4 separate regions of the Homo sapiens genome follow, and all the other regions are linked to region 1. The links are contacts of gene promoters, found by promoter capture Hi-C in blood cells and fetal thymus (Javierre and others, 2016). All regions are on one chromosome and are shown on one strand. The core of a region is centred on a gene start or on the middle of the fragment in contact, and the rest is flanking DNA. Distances in the headings are between cores, read along the strand shown.

Evidence for each region. Contacts are between HindIII fragments. The CHiCAGO score rates a contact against its expected background, and 5 or more counts as called.
Region 2: a fragment that was not itself captured here is called in contact with the fragment with the promoter of ZBTB20 in region 1 in 1 of 17 cell types (neutrophils); the score reaches 5.5 in neutrophils.
Region 3: a contact is called between a fragment that was not itself captured here and the fragment with the promoter of ZBTB20 in region 1, in 1 of 17 cell types (neutrophils). The highest score is 5.2, in neutrophils.
Region 4: a fragment that was not itself captured here is called in contact with the fragment with the promoter of ZBTB20 in region 1 in 1 of 17 cell types (neutrophils); the score reaches 5.2 in neutrophils.

What each region holds. Positions count from the first base shown.
Region 1 is chr3:115,145,707-115,149,080 of GRCh38, reverse strand. ZBTB20 (zinc finger and BTB domain containing 20) reads left to right here and starts at 1,793. Exons shown (of 12, transcript NM_001348800.3): 1 at 1,793-1,862. RefSeq lists silencers at 798-1,017, 1,578-1,747, 2,058-2,327 and enhancers at 1,068-1,277, 3,008-3,117. The HindIII fragment of the contact is 9,545 bases long and covers 1-2,972 here.
Region 2 is chr3:112,554,114-112,557,487 of GRCh38, reverse strand. The region is part of intron 2 of ATG3 (autophagy related 3); the gene reads left to right. Among named protein-coding and RNA genes, the nearest start is that of ATG3, 6.2 kb to the left of the region's middle. The HindIII fragment of the contact is 3,918 bases long and covers 1-3,374 here.
Region 3 is chr3:112,982,840-112,986,213 of GRCh38, reverse strand. No RefSeq gene overlaps it. Among named protein-coding and RNA genes, the nearest start is that of GTPBP8, 6.5 kb to the left of the region's middle. The HindIII fragment of the contact is 1,215 bases long and covers 1,276-2,490 here.
Region 4 is chr3:113,007,784-113,011,157 of GRCh38, reverse strand. RMP64 (ribonuclease MRP subunit p64) reads left to right here. Exons shown (of 9, transcript NM_015412.4): 6 at 1-113; 7 at 454-515; 8 at 2,728-2,987. Among named protein-coding and RNA genes, the nearest start is that of NEPRO-AS1, 10 kb to the left of the region's middle. The HindIII fragment of the contact is 1,251 bases long and covers 625-1,875 here.

The sequences.
Region 1 (3,374 bases), core at 544-3,043:
AGCTTTAATAGTATTAATGAGGTCAAGGCCCTTACTTTTTTTTTTTTCACCAGGGCCAATTTATTTTGCTTAGTTTCTGTCAAAGACCTCTAACCAGGCATCTTATGTGAAAGCATGCTGTACGTTCCAAAGAAGCCTGGGTTAAAATCCAGATGACTTAAGTCTATTGGAAATTATACATCAAATCCATGTCCTAGAAACAATGTCATTTTCAAATCCCAAGTACAGTGTATTCTTTGCATGCATGGTATTTTTGATAAAGTCTCTTATTTTGTGACAAAATATTGCTATATCAGCTGCCTAAAAAAGTGCAACTTAGTTTGGCAGTAATTATTTTTTTTTCTTTGTATAGTGAAAAGCGATTTCCCCAACCCTCCCATCTTGGCCCTTGTAAGAAATCCTTTTTAGGAATCTATCCTGGGCTTCCTGCTGGACTTCAGCCTCATTTTTTTCTCCAATGCCTGAGTACTGGACCAATATTTGGTAAGAATTTGGCTCTGGGGAGTGCTATGTTGAATGACAAATGGTTGAGGACGAAGATTTTATTGAAGCATTTGAACCACACTTAATTTTCCGTGTTGCTTTATTTGTTCCTTTTACCACCCAGGATATTGAATTCTGTGGGCTCTGGTTGAGTCGTTGGTACTTCAGGCGTTCAGTAATAAGAAACATAATCTGCTTTTTCCGGCAGGATAATAAATCTCATTTATATTAAGGGAGGCTTACTCCAAACTCTTTTACATAGTATTTTTCTAAATCTTCTGCATGAACAAATTCTTCCTTGAGCCCTAGCACTGGGGACCCGGTCTGGCAACCTGCGCCCCATTCCGCGGGAATCAAGCGTGACCCGGTGCGGCCTTGCGCGCTGCCGCCAGCCAGACCCTCCCTCCGGCTTTCCCACCCACCGCCCGGGATCCAGCCTCCATCCCGCTGCCTCAGCTGTCCAAGACAGCGACACCCCCCTCTCCGCTCCCGCGGCTCCCCCGGCGCAGCTCGCCGCGCCAGACAGCGGGTAACCGCCGCCTCCGCTGGGGCATCCCGGCTCCACAGGCCCAGCGCGCTCCAGACACCTGCCTCTCACTGGCCACCGCCGCTGCCCCTCACCCCGCAGCCCTCTCGGCAATTGGCCCCAGGCCGCCGCTCGTCATCCTCAGCCTTCTCCTAGAGTACCGCCTCCGTCGCCGGGTCATTTAAGTTTATCACAAATAAATAAATAAAGGAGGAAATAGAAATGCGTAGAAAGTAAAAGCAGTAGGGGGTGGGGGAGATGGGGCGTGGAGGAAAAGGAGGGAGGAGCGGAGGAGTAAGCAACCTAACCTGATTGCGCCTGTGTCGACCAATCATGGCTCACTCCAGTCCGGTCTGACGGGCTCCCTGAACCAATAGCCTTCCACCTCCCGGATCACTGAACAACGAGATACGATTGACCTTTTCAGAAAGGGTGAAGGTGCGGCGGGGGGAGGGGGTTGTGGGGGTGGGCGAAGTGGAAGGATTGTCCACCAATCGCCTGTTAATACTTCTCTGAGCGAAGTTTCCGCGTCCCAATGGATGTTTGAGATAGCGGATTGGGCCTCTTTTAGCCCAATCGAAGGTGACAGAGATGAGGGAAGAGGAAGAAAGGGGCGGGGACGGGGGGGCGGAGGGGAGAAGGAAGAGTGCATTTTGTTTATGGGCGGCAACCTCACGAGGGGCGTCCCATTCTCATTGGCTCACTGAAGCCAAGATTGGCGTGAGAGCTATCCTATAGCGGGGAGAGATAGAGGGTTCGCGGAGTGAAGCGTCCAATGTGGGCCTTCTGCCGAAGAAGTAGGGGCGGGGGGAAGTTTAGGAGTTGAGGAAAGAAGATTAAAGAGCGCGAGGAGGTAATGCCACAAACTCTAATTTGTTGTGGGACGGGCGGGAGAGAGGGAGGAGTGTGTGCGTGCCGAGGGGGATGAGGCGTCTGCGAGGCGCCTGGAGTGGGGGGCGGCGGGACTGGGAAGGAGGGGAGCGGGGTGGGGTTGGGGGAGCGAGTTACAGAGCGGCGAGCCAGCGGGCCCTGAGCTGGATGAGCGCGCGCGCCCCCGCGCCCCGCCCCGCCCCGCCCCGCCCGCGCCCCCTCCCCCGGCGCCCTTCTTAGCGCCCGGCGGCTGCCTCGCCCGACCCGGCGGGGAGGTGGGAGGGAGGCGCGGGAGGGTCGAAGGGTGGCGGGGCGGGCGGGACGTCCCGCAGCTGGAAACGTGTCTTCTGCCTTCTTCTCTCTACTCCCTGCGCCTGGAGCCGCTGCTTCCAAGAAGAGGAGCTGAGGGGGACTAGCCGGGGCTCAGGAGCTGCTAGAGGCGCCCGCTTGTCTTCTGCCCCCTCCCTCCTCGCCCTCCCCCGCTTGCCGTGGCTCTCGCGGTCTCTGGAGCGTCTTCAGAGAACTGGGGGGCAGGAGGTGTCCTGGCCCCACAGCCGCTGGATGTCTCTCCAGACGCCGGAGCTCCCGGCCCCCGCCTGCTTCGCTTCTACGACTAGAGAGGAGGGGGCTTGGGAAGGGAAGACACACCTTTCCTTCTTTCTCTTCTTTGGGCCACTTCGGAAACATTAAAACATGTTAACACTTTTTGATTCCTGATATAAAAATGGTTGGAAGGTTCTTGAAAGTTTAAAACAAATGCCGTCTCTCGTACACTGTTTAATGTATTCCTGTCTGTGTGGCTTTTGGGTCCTCCCCCCACCCCCCGCCCCCAGCTGTTATCCTTTTTAAGGATGCTGAAGAGGCAGGAGGCAGGGATTTTCTAAAAGTTCTATTGATAAACACACTTGCACAAACATATGCTAGGCACACACACAAACTAAACATTAGCGAAAAACACAATATGGCGTACAGCTACGGTACCTAGCGCGGTAATCCGCTGATCTCTCACTCCGAACTGGGTTGAATGAGGTCAGTAGCAGGATGACAGCTCTCCAATGAAAATCTGAATGAATCAGGAAGTAGTTTGGAAGCTTGCGGGTGTAGTACTGTCCTCAGAATCAGCATTGGCCAAACCTAAGTTGAACATGTTACCTTTCTAGACATGTGAAAATCTTCTCCACTGTTTTTTCTATTAAAAATACCAAAAGGGTGCTAAAGTCAAGTTTCCTCACTGCGTGGCGGTGTATACATTTCAGCTAAAAAAATTATAGAGGCCATTCACCCAATGTTTTCAAGTGAACGCTATTCTGAAGTTACTGTTGTAACTTGTTGCCATTGAAAGTTTTAAAACACAATTACCATTTTATAAATAAATAGCTGTAGACACTAAATTTAAGTGATAACCAGTCATCTTTAAATTTATAATGGTTTGTTTTCATTTCTGTTCATGCTCCCAATCCCAAGTACCCTTTGCTATTTTGTGGAAATATTTATA
Region 2 (3,374 bases), core at 364-2,863, 2.6 Mb after region 1:
CGCCACCACGCCCAGCTAAGTTTTGTACTTTTAGTAGAGATGGGGTTTCACCATGTTGGCCAGAATGGTCTCGACCTCTTGACCTCGTGATCCGCCTGCCTCGGGATTACAGGCTTGAGCCACTGCGCCCGGCTCCTTGTGAGTTTTAAGAATGGTTTCTGTGCTGGGCGTGGTGGCTCACGCCTGTAATCCCAACACTTTAGGAGGCAGAGGCAGGCGGAATACAGGCTAACAGGGCGAAACCCCGTCTCTACTAAAAATATAAAAAATTAGCGGGGCGTGATGGTGGGCGCCTGTAGTCCAGCCTGGGCGACAGAACGAGACTCCGTCTGAAAAAAAAAAATGGTTTGCATAACTAATCTTTTCTCTAAAATTGTCTTTTGTTTTTGGTGAAGACACATGGTAGTATGGAAATAACCTAGGAGACCTGCCTTCTAGACCTATTTCTGTAATTTCTTTTTTTTTTTTAATTGATCATTCTTGGGTGTTTCTCGCAGAGGGGGATTTGGCAGGGTCACAGGACAATAGTGGAGGGAAGGTCAGCAGATAAGTGAACAAAGGTCTCTGGTTTTCCTAGGCAGAGGACCCTGTGGCCTTCCGCAGTGTTTGTGTCCCTGGGTACTTGAGGTTAGGGAGTGGTGATGACTCTTAACGAGCATGCTGCCTTCAAGCATCTGTTTAACAAAGCACATCTTGCACCACCCTTAATCCATTCAACCCTGAGTGGACACAGCACATGTTTCAGAGAGCACAGGGTTGGGGGTAAGGTCACAGATCAACAGGATCCCAAGGCAGAAGAATTTTTCTTAGTACAGAACAAAATGAAAAGTCTACAATGTCTACCTCTTTCTACACAGACATGGCAACCATCCGATTTCTCAATCTTTTCCCCACCTTTCCCCCCTTTCTATTCCACAAAACCGCCATTGTCATCATGGCCCGTTCTCAATGAGCTGTTGAGTACACCTCCCAGACGGGGTGGTGGCCGGGCAGAGGGGCTCCTCACTTCCCAGTAGGGGCGGCCGGGCAGAGGTGCCCCTCACCTCCCGGACGGGGCGGCTGGCCGGGCGGGGGGCTGACCCCCCCACCTCCCTCCCGGATGGGGCGGCTGGCCGGGCAGAGGGGCTCCTCTCTTCCCAGTAGGGGCGGCCGGGCAGAGGGGCTCCTCACTTCCCAGTAGGGGCGGCCAGGCAGAGGCGCCCCTCACCTCCCGGACGGGACGGTAATTTCTCCTAATGAGGAAATCAGTTAAACTATCCCTGCCGAGGCTTCATGTTTCCTCATCTATAAAATAACGGTTGTGGGCTAGACATTCTGTAAAGATCCTATTCTGCCTTAGGTTTTATTACCTCAAATGCCAAATAAAACTAAGTTTTGATTTTAAGGATATCATTAACATTCTTGCCAAACAGAGGTGTAATTTGAACATGGCTCTTTATCTGAAATCAAGAGCGGAGATGAAAGTATGCTGTTCTTATTGCACTCTTTGGTTTTATTTCCTCTGTGAAGATGACTAATTGTTGAATATATAGTTGCAGTTAGAGATGCAAAGTCTGTGGTCATTGGATAGAATTAAGCAGTTTCAAAACAGGAATTCATCCTAGAATAAATAACTGTTACACTTAATTACAACATCAATCAATTTATGAATTTTCCTCTCTAAAAAAATCCAAGGCCAAATTAGCCCAGCTGGCTGTCTATTACATAATGCAGGGTTGGGATAGAGCACAATTACAGGATTGAGTTAGAGTAGAATGAGCCTGGAGGAGGAAATGGGAAGGCATCATTTGCTTTGTGTAAATATTATATACTGAGTTGATTTGTTCATTTGTTTCATCTTGCTGTTTCTGAGTTTCTGCCAGACATCAGCTATCTTTTTGTTTTCATTCAGAGGTGTGGCAGTATTGTGCTTAAAAAGAGGGGCAGCTAGTATCTGATACTGTATTGTCAAAAAACAAAGAAAAAACTAATGTTGGATGTATGTATGACTTGTTTAAGTAGAATACTATTAATTGAGGTTAGCTTGAGGAATGGAATTGCTCACCAAGGTGTAAATATTGATTCTTGTTGGAGTTGGTCAGTATTATATACTGATAATAAAGATAATAAGAGAACATTTTTAGTCTCTAAGAGAAAGCTATTGCAAGCAATATTGATCATTTAGAAATTTGAATCTTGCATCATTTGAACACGTGAAGCAAGTTATGATGGCCATTGCTAATGAGGGCAGATGTACACATGTATTATCAGTGTGAGTCTGTGTTTTTTTTGTTTTGTTTTTTGTTTTTCGTTTTTCTTGCCTCCTAGTGTTCTTGTTTTTAAATAGAAGATACTATAGGGACTATGAGATAAAATGTTAGTCTTGTTACCTCAAGGCAATACAATGAAAGAATTTTTTATTTTTAATTATTTTGCTTTCATTTAGTTAAATTATTACTTTTAATGGTAATAAATTAGTTCCTGATAACCACAGAGCTAAATGTAGCATCTGGTTGCAATGAGCTCGAAGTGCTCAAAATTTGGGGAAGAGACTATTGTTTTTATTTTGGTTTTTGTCTTTACTTAGGCTGTTTAAATAATAAGGTTATTCGAAGTAAAAGAACAGAAACATAAAGTTTCTATCAGGAATCCAGTTGCTATATCTTGTTAATGTTTCATCTTAAAAGAGGTTATTCTTAGAATTCTTATTTGATAGAATTATATGCTCAAATTAAACTAGAGTATTTTATATAGGCATACTTTCTCAAAGGTATTAGAGATTAAATATTTTGTAATTTTTTGCTGTGTAGTAAACCCATGAACAATACAAGATTTTAAGCTAGAGCTGTTGCAAAATAGAAGTAATTTGGCAAGTATGTGGGTGTCACATGCGTCCATGTGTAGAGACCACCAAACAGGCTTTGTGTGAGCAACAAGGCTGTTTATTTCACCTGGGTGCAGGCGGGCTGAGTCCGAAAAGAGCAAAGGATGGTGAGATTATCATTAGTTCTTATAGATTTTGGGATAGGCAGTGGAGTTAGGAGCAATGTTTTGTGGGCAGGGGGTGGATGGCACAAAATACATTCTCAAGGATGGGGAGAATTACAAAGAACCTTCTTAAGGATGGGGGAGATTACAAAGTACCTTGATCAGTTAGGGTGGGGCAGAAACAAATCACAATGGTGGAGTGTCATCAATTAAGGCTATTTTCACTTCTTTTGTGGATCTTCAGTTGCTTCAGCACATCTAGATGTATACGTGCAGGTCACAGGGTATATGATGGCTTAGCTTGGGCTCAGAGGCCTGACAATGCACATCCTGCTTGAGTTGGGACACTGCAGTTATGCTTAACAGACTTAAATTTTCTGCCCTCAGAAATAAGCAGGATTTCTGTT
Region 3 (3,374 bases), core at 634-3,133, 2.2 Mb after region 1:
ACCTAATTTCTTTCTTTTTTTTTTTAGAGACAAGGTCTCGCTCTGTTGCCCAGGCTGGAATGGGCACAATCATGGCTCACTGTAGTCTCAACCTCCTGGGCTCAAGTGATCTTCCTGCCTCAGCCTCCTAAGTAGCTGAGACGACAGGCACTCAACCACCCTTGGCTAATTTTACAAAGTTTTTTTGTGTGTGTGTGCTTTTTTTTTTTGGAGAGACAGAGTCTCACTATGTTGCTGAGGTCAGTTTTGAACTCCTAGCCTCAAGAAATCATCCTGCCTTAGCCTCCCAAAATGTTGGGATTACAGGCATGAGCCACCACGCCCAGGCTTAATTTCTTAATTAGGGCATAAATTATTATTCTTGAGATTTATTATTTTACTATAATTCAAGAACCAATAGAGACCTATTTTCCATGATTTTAGTCTTTGGAGCTCATGAAAGCATTGAGCTTTTTAAATATCTGATTAATGTGTCTTTAGAGAATATATCTAAATTTAGAGAAGTTGTTTCTTTTTCAGAGAAGTTGTTTGAGCTTTCTTTTAAGGTTGTGCCTACTGCACTGACAGATTTCTCTAAAGAGATCTGGAGATTAACCATCAGACAGTAATCATAGGTAGGAGGTGAGTTTGTAGAGTGATTTGGATTCTGGAGGAGGAGTAAAGGTTCACTTCTTTCAAGGTTGTTTTTATCAATAGAGGGAGAAATGATTGCTTTAAGTGGTCTTAATTTTTTTCATTCGTAATTTTGCATTTGGCTCTGTGTCATACAAGTGCTATTAAAATAATTTGGAACACTATTTACCATATTCAGGTTGTGTTTTTATATCAGTAACAAGCTCAGAGGGTTTTTTTAAAATTGTTTTTGGAAAATAGTATGGATTTTGCTGTTCTGACTGATTAATTCGTTAACATTTTAATTCTTGTTGTGTGTTAAGCAAGGTTATTTTAGTGGGCAAGTTTACTTTGTAGTACACATCTAGTTTATATCTTGTTGCCTTGTTGGAAGTGAATGGAATGTTCTCTAACACCCTGAGGAGATGAGGCAACATTCACAGGCAGATATATTGATGTATATTCAAATTTTTAACTTATTCATAGGTAGAGTGTGTCAGGTGTTCCCAAGACTAGCTCCCAAATGAGGCGAGCAAGGATGCACAGAACTCAGCATATAGTTGTACTTATGCCTATAATTTACAACAACAAAAGAATACAAAGCAAGCCTGGCAAGGGGAAAAGGCACTCAAAGTGAAGTTTGGAGGAAGCCAGGCACAAGCTTCTAATTGTCCCCTAAGTTGCACAGGATGCAATTAATTCTGCCAGCAATGAGTTTTAACAACATGTGTGAAATGTTGTCTACTAGCAAAGCTCACCTGAGTCTAGGAGTCCAGGGTTTTTACCGAGCGCTGTTCATATAGGCATCTAGTGCCTGTGTGACTGACTATAGTCACTGAAAGTTCAGATTTGCAGAAGGAAAGCAGCATCAGTATGTACCACTTGTTTGTTCAAATAGTTTAGATACAGTGAGCCACTCATGAATGGAAAGTTGGCTCTGTGCCATGCAAGGAAACTGTTTACCAGTCAAGTTCTCAAATGTCAGCCCAGTGCCAATCTTGTAAACAAATCTTTCTAAGGGTAGCAGCCACAGGCCTGCTATATGAACTGTTTTCTGCACATAGATTAAAAGATAAAAACATTTAAAAATGAGAAGTTTCTCACCTGCACTTATTGTGAGATTGTATACTTGTAGGAAAGATGTATTCCAGGTTCTGCTCTAAATACAAGTGATTTCTCTGGAGATTTTTGAGAAAAGTGGGACAGACTTTCTCTAGTCATTTTAATAGGACATGGCAAAACTAGAATTCTTCCTGTGGAAGGAGGTTATAATCAAAGCTGCTGTCTCAGCCACCTGTAATAAAGTATGGGGCCTCTGGAGAGGAGTGCAATGAATTGGTGATTCAACTGGTATGAACATCAGGTTTAGCTGGAGTTGAGTGCAGCAATGTCCTTGAACATTCCCTCCAACCTCCTTACCCATCCTCCTCTAGGGGCTGGACAATCAGATTCAAACAATGTTTTGTGATTACTCTCTAGAAAGGAATAATGCCTGGTGTAGTGGTACTAGGTGGTTACCTAATAGGCAGGATCTCATGGGTGGCAGGCGCACGAGTGGTTGAGCCCAGAATGCTGTGATATATCTCTCTTCTGCCTAGACTAGTGCAAGTCAGAACCTAGCCTTTCACTCCTCTCTCTAGGTATCTGTTATTTACCAAGATAGCTGATTTTTTTTAAAAGATAGCTGATTTTACCATAATAGTATAATCTCACGAACTCACATTATGAACCCACAAGCAATAGAAGAAAAAGTAAGAAAAAGATAATTCATTCTAGAAGTAATCAGAATGAATGGACTTGGTGGGCAAAGAATTTAAATAAAAACAGAAAATATCCTCAGAGATAAGGGAATATATGGCAAACATGAAACAGGAAGCTTCTAAGAAGTACCAGTTGAACATATTAGATATGAATTATATTATTGTGAAGTAAATTTCTCAATGGATGTGTTTAATAGTTGAATAATATTATCAACTCAAAGAACAAAATAGCAGGATAATTAGATTGGAGAATATTTCAATAAATATTAGGAAGGGATAAAAAATATAAAGAATTTAAAAGTTAAGAGCTGCGAAGGTGAAAAGAAGAAATTTAAATAACAGTATTGTAAGAGTTGGGCATGGTGGCTTGGTCCTGTAATCCCAGCACTTTGGGAGGCCGAGGTGGGCAGATCGATTTGAGGCCAGGAGTAGGAGACCAGCCTGGCTAACATGATGAAACCCCTTTCTCTACTGTAAATGCAAAAAATTAGCCAGGTATGGTGGTGCACGCCCACAATCCCAACTACTTGGGAGGCTGAGGCATGAGAATTTCTTGAGCCTGAGTGGCAGAGATTGCAGTGAGCTGAGATTACACCACTGCACTCCAGCCTGGGTGAGAGAGCAAAACTCTGTCTCAAAAAACAAAACAACACAAAACAAAAGCAAACCAAACAATATTATAGGAGTACTTGAAAAAAATGAAGTAAAAGGAGGAAATTTGCTGAAAATTTCCAGAATTAAAGATACTTTGACTAGGAAGCAGAGCACTACTTCTTACAGGTTTCATTGCTTTATCATATTTAGCCAAGTAAAAGATAGAAATATTAAATCAAAAAAGATCTTATCTACTTCCTTTTCTCAATACAGAACATTCAACATTCAAACGTTTTCAGCAGTTTCATATTTCCTACTTCTTCTTTTCCCAAGGTGAGATAATCATAACAGTATTCTTTAGAAAATTCCCCTACACACATTTTGAAATCACATTAAATCACTCCAAGT
Region 4 (3,374 bases), core at 1-2,500, 2.1 Mb after region 1:
AGCCAGTGAAGAAACCTTGCTTGGAATTTCAAAAAAAGCTAAACAAATGAAGATCAATGTACAGAATAATGTGGATCTTGGACAGCCAGTAAAGAATAAGAGAGTCTTCAAAGGTAATTTGCTTTGATACAGCACATACTCTAGTAAAACAAAAAACAAATAAAAAGAAACCTTTTGAAAGTAATAGTCATGCATTGCATAGAAAGAAATTCAACATCTCACATCTTAATTTTGACTCATATTGATTAGAGAGGTATGGTAATACCTGTGCTTTCTAAGCTTGAGTACTTTAAGTTGTTTATTTGTTTCTGTAGTTGCTTCCTAGTTATTTGCTTGCTTTATTCCTTTATTTTGTGGTAATTTGGCAAGAAATGTCATGCACTTAAGAATTTGTTGTAGATTTGAAAATAGTATGCCTAAGGTTTTGTATCTGCAATTTTTCCACCTCCACAGAAGAGTCATCAGAATTTGATGTGAGGGCTTTCTGCAACCAGCTGAAACACAAAGCTACTCAGGTTTGTCTGGCTTCATTAAATTTAGCTTATGATTTCTGCTAATTTGTAGAGGATGCTTCTTACCAAGGGCAGAGATTGAATCTTTTCATTTTATCCCCAGCTCTAAGCTTAGTGCCTTCTTAGTTGTCAGTGTGTGCTTCTGAATGAATAGAGGCAAGGGATTTTTAATACATCTAGTTAATTCAGTTAATAGAGTACCTTCAGAAATATTTTAGTAGGAGTTTCTCTAGAATTTTAAAGTAACCGTAAGATCTGTTGTTAAGTATGGATTGTACTGCAGCTTAAGAGTATAGGCTTTGCAGTCAGACAGTTGGTTTGAATCCTGGCTTTGGTACTAGCTGTGTGACCTTCTGTGAGTTTCCTGATCTCTCCGTACCTCTATTTTGTAATAGTAATATGTGCCTCATAGGGTTGTGCTAGTTTTAATGCATGTAAAGCGTTCGGTAGTCTGGAGTATGGTAAGCATTTAATTGGAGTTAGATGTTATTAGCTACGGTCATTTTGGTCATCATCCTCATCATTTTGTCATGAAGCTATTCCTTTACTCCTGTTGAGGTTCAAGTTTTAACATGATTGATTAATGTCTGTAAATTCTGTTTGTTCTGGACCTAACAGCATATAAGTACATCGGCATTACTGTTTTACTCAGTAACTTGACTTTTTTTTTTTTTTAACCCTGTCTTTGCAAAATGTCTACTTCTGGTATTTTTCATGGGTTAGTTTACTTCTTTTATTTAAGAATTCTTAAACATATTTTCTTGAACTTAAGGACTCCAGCTTCCATTGATGTTCTGTCCAATTTATGAATTCAGAGTGAGGAGTAATACTTTCTGTGCCAGGCATTGTTCTAAGTGCTTTTATATGCATGAAGTCATGTAATTATATCACAAAAGCTCTGTGAGGTGGGCATGCTTATTACTGTTTTCATATTTCAGATGAGGAAACTGAGGCATAGAAAGGCCAAGAAACTGCCAGGCCACATAGTGAATAAATGGTAGAGCTGCGATTTGAATGCAGGCAGTATGGTTTCATAGTCTTTCTTCTTTACTATTCACCAGTCCCCAGAACAGTTTTTCAACTGTATCTCAAGAACTATGGTGCTTTGTGAACCTTGAAACTTCTGCAGCCTGTGCACCTGTTTGTAGGTGAGCTGGCTTTGAAGTTGGTGGGTCAGCATCCCTCTTACTCAAAACTAACTGCTACTATATTTTTAGCAAATAGCACTAACTTGCTTAGCTTTAAAGCAAACTACTTCTATTGATCACCAAACATAAACTATTGACCTGGGTCATTACTTTTATATTTTCTACTTTTTTTTAAAGTTCCTTTTGAGTGTAAGAAATTTGGAAGAAGGTAAGCTTTGAATGAAAGAGCAGATCATCTCGTAGGCAGCATATTTTCATAAAGAAATAGTAAACGTTAGTAAAATCCAAATGTGACTTGATATAGAAAGAAGGGGTTGAAGAAGTAAAGGTGCCTTGTCAGAAGATGGTTGAAGTAGAATTGGAAGTGTTGCTCAATTGAGCATTTTTAATAGATATTCAGCAGGCATTAACTGATTAATGGGCTTATTCTGCTGGGCACTCTGCAGGGCCCCATATCTTCCCTGTTTTCAGAAACATTTCTAAATTGAGGAGGTTTGCCCAGGATACGGAAATAAGTGAAAAACAAGTCGTGATAATCTGGTGGTGTAGCGAAGAGGGGCCTTTCAGTGATCCCCCAACCCTCTGCAATTAGGCTTTGACCAGTATTTAATCATGTGGGGTTTTTTTATTGTGTATGTGAGATATGTGTGTTAGGATATTTATGTTAACTTTCCTATGTCAATCTAATTCAGCTGCAGATGGGACCTGTCCTGGTACAGAGGGGGAACAAAACAACTTGTATTTGGAGCAGTGGAGAAAAATTCAGTTTTTAAAGACATAAGGAAAGCTTAGTGAGCAAAAAAATTTCCTTACAGACTGATTTTTTTTTTTTAATTTTTAGGTTTTGTGGGTACGTAGCAGGTATATATATTTATGGGGTACGTATTTTGTTATAAGCATATAGTGCATAATAACCACAGGGTAAATGGGGTATCCATCACTTCAAGCATTTAGGGACTGATAATTCTAATTTTTAAATTTTGATTGTGAGCTAGCTTTCCTTGTTGTCATATAATTACAAGTCAGTAACATGTCCAATATATTTTTCTCATCTTTCCACGTTTCAGGAGACCAGTTTTGATTTTAAATGTTCTCAATCCAGACTAAAGACAACCAAGTATTCTTCTCAGAAAGTGATAGGAACTCCTCATGCCAAAAGTTTTGTGCAAAGATTCCGAGAGGCTGAGTCCTTCACACAACTTTCTGAAGAAATCCAGATGGCAGTTGTATGGTGCAGGAGCAAAAAACTCAAGGCTCAGGCCATTTTTCTGGGTAACAAACTTCTTAAAAGCAACCGGCTTAAACATCTGGAAGCTCAAGGTACTAGGTAGGTATATTGCAAAAATTATGTTACTTTACTTTTTCTGTTGTTGTTATGAGTAAAAGTATTCAGGTCACTTTTCTTTAAAATGTGATGTCCAGCAGCCGCAGCGGGGCTAAATTGGGATGTACTCAAACTGCAATTGCATTTGCTGCTTTTATTGTAAGAGCAAAGCTGTATCATTGGAGGAAGAAGATAAACAAGTTAATTGGACTTCAGTCCCCGTTATGCTCTTCATCATTTCCATCAGCTCATTCAGGAACCATTAAGAGTGTCTAGTGTGCTGAGCCTGAGGATACAACTGCATAAAGACGTGACTTGGTCTTCAGGGAGCTCAGGGTCTTCTGGGAAAGGCAGCCCTTCTGCAGACAGCTTCAGTGCAGTGCAGTGGGA